Regions from separate parts of the Homo sapiens genome. Here region 1 is linked to region 2. Evidence: promoter capture Hi-C in human tissues and cell types (Jung and others, 2019). All regions are on one chromosome and are shown on one strand. Each heading gives the region's core, a stretch centred on a gene start or on the middle of the fragment in contact. The rest is flanking DNA. Distances are from core to core; before and after follow the strand shown.

What was found. The method cuts DNA at HindIII sites, captures the fragments that hold promoters and counts their contacts. A contact is called where the count stands out against the background at its distance.
Region 1: a fragment that was not itself captured here is called in contact with the fragment with the promoter of SC5D in region 2 in 1 of the 25 tissues and cell types used here (hippocampus).

What each region holds. Positions count from the first base shown.
Region 1 is chr11:122,093,184-122,095,987 of GRCh38, reverse strand. All of the region lies in intron 4 of MIR100HG (mir-100-let-7a-2-mir-125b-1 cluster host gene), which reads left to right. Among named protein-coding and RNA genes, the nearest start is that of MIR125B1, 5.3 kb to the left of the region's middle. The HindIII fragment of the contact is 3,331 bases long and covers 1-2,804 here.
Region 2 is chr11:121,291,095-121,294,034 of GRCh38, reverse strand. SC5D (sterol-C5-desaturase) reads right to left here and starts at 1,264. Exons shown (of 5, transcript NM_006918.5): 1 at 1,219-1,264. RefSeq lists a silencer at 1,253-1,302 and an enhancer at 1,473-1,522. The HindIII fragment of the contact is 8,425 bases long and covers 1-2,940 here.

The sequences.
Region 1 (2,804 bases), core at 285-2,784, 800 kb before region 2:
GCTAATTAGTAATGCTCAAGGATCCGACCATTCAGAGTAATTATCATAATTTACTTCTTCCTTGTTAAAGACATTCCTTGCTGATTAGAAAAAAAAAAAAAAAATTAAATCGTCGTTTTACCATTGCACTGCAGTGGAAATGCACTAGAGAGATGTTCAAGGTATAGTAACACTGTTGCGGTTGCATTCCAAGTCACCGACCTGTGCCTCTTAGCTTATTACGAATGGAATTGCCACTTAATTTCTAAGAAGAAATTCATTTAAATGCATAAAGTTTGGCATGTAGACCAGGAATATATGATTTTATTTTACAAACCCCAGGGCTCCACCTTCCCGGCCCACCCTCTTTCTAAAACCACTTACTGAGCAGAACAAAGGAAACAGCTAACTATAGAGGCATCATTAAGTGTGAACTGCAACAGCATGATAAAGTATGTGATATGACAACATATTTTATTGCACAAAAGTGCAGATAATTAAATAATTCTATAGTAACCCTGACTAATTAGCCGAAAGATCTTGAAGGAGGAATCAAGAAAATGGATCCAATCACCTTGAATAATATGCTTCGTTCTCCAAGATCACAAATTTATTTTGGTTATTTGATGATTGATTAACTCATATAGAAAGATGAGGACAAAAGCCTGTTTCTCAAAGCAGAGCTTTGATCTGGTGTCCTCTTTAGGACAAATTAATCCTATGTTTTAGAAGTGCTGAATTTAATGTAGGGCTTTCTGTTTTCAGTCAAAGATATAACCTGCCATTCTGTTGAACATTTCTCTATTATCGAGTGATCTAAGAAATTATCAACCCTTAGCTTCTTATATCGCTGCCTCAAAATATAGATGTAGCCTCGTTCACATTTTCTAATGAGTCTCCTGTTTAAGTTTGTTTCTTATTGCTTGAAGCAAATAAATATCATGGGCACAGAAGGAAGAGAATAAATAACCGTGCTGAATATTATGTATGGTGAAACCCTCCCCCCTTCCTTTATCAAGGTAATATTCCTAGTGTTCATTGTTCATTGGTCCTTTAAGAGAGAGCTTTAGCTTTTACTTGAGGGTTGTAAGCACATTAGAGGAATAATTCCCTTTGGATACTATACAGAAGGAGCCACCTGCAAAATGTTGATGCTGTTATTGAAGTCTCAAGTGGAATCAGCTTTCAAAAAATTAGATATTAGATACATCCGATATAATTTGCAATGTGTAATTATACTAATGTGCATATAGTTGTCTGTTGCTTTACATGTTGCCTACTTGAGTTTTTTTCTTTTCTTGTGCATTTCTCATCATTGAAATGGTTCCTGAGTAGAATCTTTTTAAAATAAGCTTATTTTAAAAAAATTCTTTGTTAATTAATATAGGGATACGAGGACTCTACGATCTGTGTTCTTATGCAAGAATAAATATGTGCGACCTAGATGTTGGAAATTAATTATCTCTGAAAGGGTTATCATTGTGGACACTTGCTTAATTTGTAAAATATTTGCTACTCTTGATTGATTTAGTCTTTTTCTGACTTTAGACAACTTGAAGTAATTGAGAATATTAGTTCCTTTGTTGGAATAACAAAATAGAATGCCAGGGAAATGACCTTAGGCAGAGATAATAATTTTAATTTAACCAAAGTAATCAAAACAATAACAATAATCAGCAATTTCTTTTATTGTTTTTCACTGTTTTGCATGGCACATGTTGAATACTGAAACTCTGCCTTAGGTTATTTGTGCACTAACATCAACTTCCCTTTTAACGTCTTGACATGATGTCCAAGGTCTACTGATGGCCCCACTGGAGAGCCTCCTTCCAGGGAACTGATCCCTGAAGATCTACCTATTAAGGAATAGCCCAGTCAGAGCAACAGCGAGTTGGCTGGTCAGCCTGGTAGTTGGCTCAGTAGGTGAAGAGGCTCTTGATGCAAATTTGGAGAATCATTACCATCAGGTCACAGAAGGACCCCGGGCAAGGCAATACAAGGGTCTCGATTTATGCTTATGTGTTTGGGAGACAAAAAGGATTCCAAGGGAGGCTTATATTGAGATACAAGATATGACTCATTGCAATTGAGTAGGCATAGAGCCCAAAGAAAGCTGATTTGTAGAACAGTTGACTCATAGTAGACACCTAGAATATGGTCATTCACATATTTATACTATCTGTTTCTCAAAATTTGTTTTAATGATGGAGTCCCTATTAGAAAGAGACATTTTGCGTGATGTATAGCTACCTAATACCAAAGCAATACAAGGTTTACTTTTCACCTGCTCATGTATTCAAGGATTTGCCATCATTAGATATCCAAATGAGCCATAAAAAATTGTGCAAAATGTTATTCCTTAATACATAATATTTTAATTTATTAAAAAATGAGTTTTACAAATGAGTATCAAAAGCTTAGCACCCCATCATCCCTGTCAATGTTCACAAAATAATAAATTCTAAAATCTTTAAGATGTATATTTAATTACTCATCCAAGATCAGTTATTGCATGCTTAATCAGAAAAATACCTATTAACGTTTAACACTTAGTTACTTTACAGATTAAAAAACATATTATACCTGCCATCTAGGGAGCCAGCATCCTCGGTGTATCAAAAGTGTTTAGGGCAGAAAGCAGTGATGTGTCATAGTGTACCCCTTTTGGTGTGCCTGACTTATTAGACATCTTCATTGTGTAAGCATGATGAAGAGGCTGATGATAAGGTCTTCAGTTAAAGAAACATCTACCTGAGAAGTATATTTTATTCATAACAACTTTTATAAAAAAAGAGAAACATTAATAACAACTCTTCTCAAATACC
Region 2 (2,940 bases), core at 15-2,514:
TTGTATAACCTCATCTAATCCCTATACCTCTATGAGATAGGTACTTCTATGCTCCCCACTTTATAGATAGGGAAACTGAGGTCAGAGTATTTAAATAACTTGTTCAGTAGCAAGCAACAATAACAGAAAAAACCAGCTGGGATGTACATTCCACAACCTTTCTCTTTGCTACCACGTTATGTTATCTCTCAAGATGTTTTATATGCAGATGAGGGATTCTGAGTACCACCCCATGCTAATTAATTACATTACATAACGAATGGAAAAGCACTCTGTAAATGATCAAGGATCAGTTATTATTTACTAGGTATCAATCATTAGAAACTTTAAAAAATGATAGTGATATAAAGACAAATAACTTCCAGAGGGTTTCCTCTAAAAGTACCGAGCTGCCACAAACTTTCCAGTTTGGAAACTCTATGTACTGAGGTCTTGTTTTCTTCACTTACACCACCTCCAAATCTACTCTGCTGTAACACAGGGATGTCAGTATACATTATTTTTCCTTTTATGATGCAAAAGGAACAGATTATTTCCCTTTTCCTTTCAGTCTCCTCAGCCCCAGATTGCTGTCCCTTCATTCTAATTACGCCGCAGCAACAGAGGCTTGCAATGGTCAGGAGTTCTGATACCGACCAGTTCTTCAGCCTGATTCTTCTGGCCTTTAAAAGAAAAAAACCCTCCCAGAACGAAGGGAAAAGTAAAGCATTCGTGTTCAGCAGCCAGACCAGAATTCCCTTGAGTAAGAGATCTGCAACACCCAACATCAAACACTGCATTTTCTTTAAGCCCGTCCACGGTCGGCTCCTTCAAGTCCAGGCCTCCCTATCGGCCCCGCGATCCCTCCCAGCGCGAGCGGAAGGCCCCTCCGCCCGGACTCCCAGGTGGCGCAGCCCTCCAGGCCCCGAGGTCCCCCGGCCCAGCCCTCGCCGCCAGTCTTCGGGATGCCAGGCTACCTGCCAGCCTCTCCTCTCACTCGGCGCAGGACTCGGATCCGTATGCTACCGCGATCCTACCATCCGCCCAACGCCTAGCACCCAGAGGGCACTCGCTAACCAACCGCGGCGCGGAGAAAAGCCGTGCTGCGAGGACACCTTCCGCCTCGCCCACCCGAGTCCCAGGCGCTGAAGTCTCTCCATCTTCTTTTATTCCATCGCCCCCCGGCCCAGCCCGCTCAGGTGTATTCCGCTTCCTTCCCCGCCCACCCACCGTCCCCACCTGGAGGTGGTCCGCCGCCGCTCCGCACGCCACTGCTCTGCAAACTGTCCTAGCAGCTGGGCAGCCAGCAAGCGGGCCGGGAGGCTGGAGCGGCCAGCCAATCAGCGACCGGCGCCATAAGCTGATATGACGGCAGATCGCGCGAAGGGCCTGCGCGCAGCTCTCCGCGGTCACGTGGGCGCCGCGCGCTCGGCCACGCCCCCTTTGTCCTCTGACTAAGGGGAGGGCGGGCGCCCCATCCGAGTACCTTTGCGGTGGAGGATGCGGTTTCGGGTTTTGCGTTTGTTTCTTTGCTTTCTTTTTAAACTAGCTCTTGTGTCATTCATGGTGGTACCAGGCAGGTTTACGGTGTTTATACAAACATTCCTAGAACGGGTGCCCTGCGTTGAGGGAAATAGACGACACTTCCTTTGACGCGAATGTCTGGGTCGTTTTCTCCCTCAAGGGAGGAGGTGCAGATGTTCCCAAACAGGTGCTCAAGGTTTTAAGACGTAGTCCCCCCGATTTTCTAGCGCTGAATGGCTGGAGGCTCCGCGAGCCGGTGTATGTAGGGGTCTAAATGGTGACAAGATGAGGGTAAACATGGACAGAAACCTTTTCACGATACAAGTTGTTGAAAACCAAGGTTAACGCAGATCTAATTGGCTTTGATTTGCTACACATGAATCGAGCAGCTCCGATTTCCTGAAACAGAGCTGAGCAGAGGAGGGTGGCTTCACAGGCAGAAGAGGACGGAGGAAAGCAGAAATAAGGAACCAAAAGATCTGTCGTTTCAGAGTGACTTTCCTTAAACAGAGATTAAAACAGAGGGGACTGACTTGTGATACCAGCTCAGCAACTTCAAAGTGGCAAACTGGGCCACTTTACCTATTACATAAATAATATGGGGAATACATGACAGAAATGAGGGATTTTTAAGGGAAAAAAATAACATGATTCGATCTGCCTTCAAAAGACTTTTCCGGTAGTTAAACTTCAAATGTACATAGGATACTGGACAAAGTTCAAATGAATTTAAAATAGTGTAGGTGGTTTTTTTAAAAAAGACTCATTATATAAATAAAAATAAATTTTAAAAAGTTTTGAGTGTCTACTTCGTTTAACACATCGTACTGAACACCGGGAATGGAAAGAGATGTTACAATAATGACAAAGACATGGTTCCCAACCTTAAAAAGCTTATGTGCTGTGGGAGAAATGGGCATGTATAAATAACTATGTTGCTTATTACAAGGACAGGAAATAAACAGTAATTGGTGGTATAGGCTGAGCACAGAGACAAAATGGCTATTCTGATGAGGGAAATTAGGGAAGGAACATTGTTTTGCCCAATGAAATGATTTGAATGGACACTTTAAAATGTTATTGAGCATAGATGATAAAACATTTATTAAACGAATAAAAGCTCAAAAGTGAAATGTTATAAGCAAACATCAAATATCCTGAATCTCTAGAATTTTATTGTTGAATATGCCTTAGCTATTACAAGTGGTCTTTATTCTTGGTGACTTAGGGATTCCCAAGAAATTTGCAATCACTCCTGACAACTCAAAGTAGTAATAAGTTAACCTCAAGAGAACAATCTTGTTTAAAAATAAATTTAAGTGTATTTTTTAATTATTATTTAAGTTCTGGGATACATGTGCAGAACGTGCAGGTTTGTTACATAGGTATACATGTGCCATGGTGGCTTGCTGCACCTTCCAACCCGTCATCTAGGTT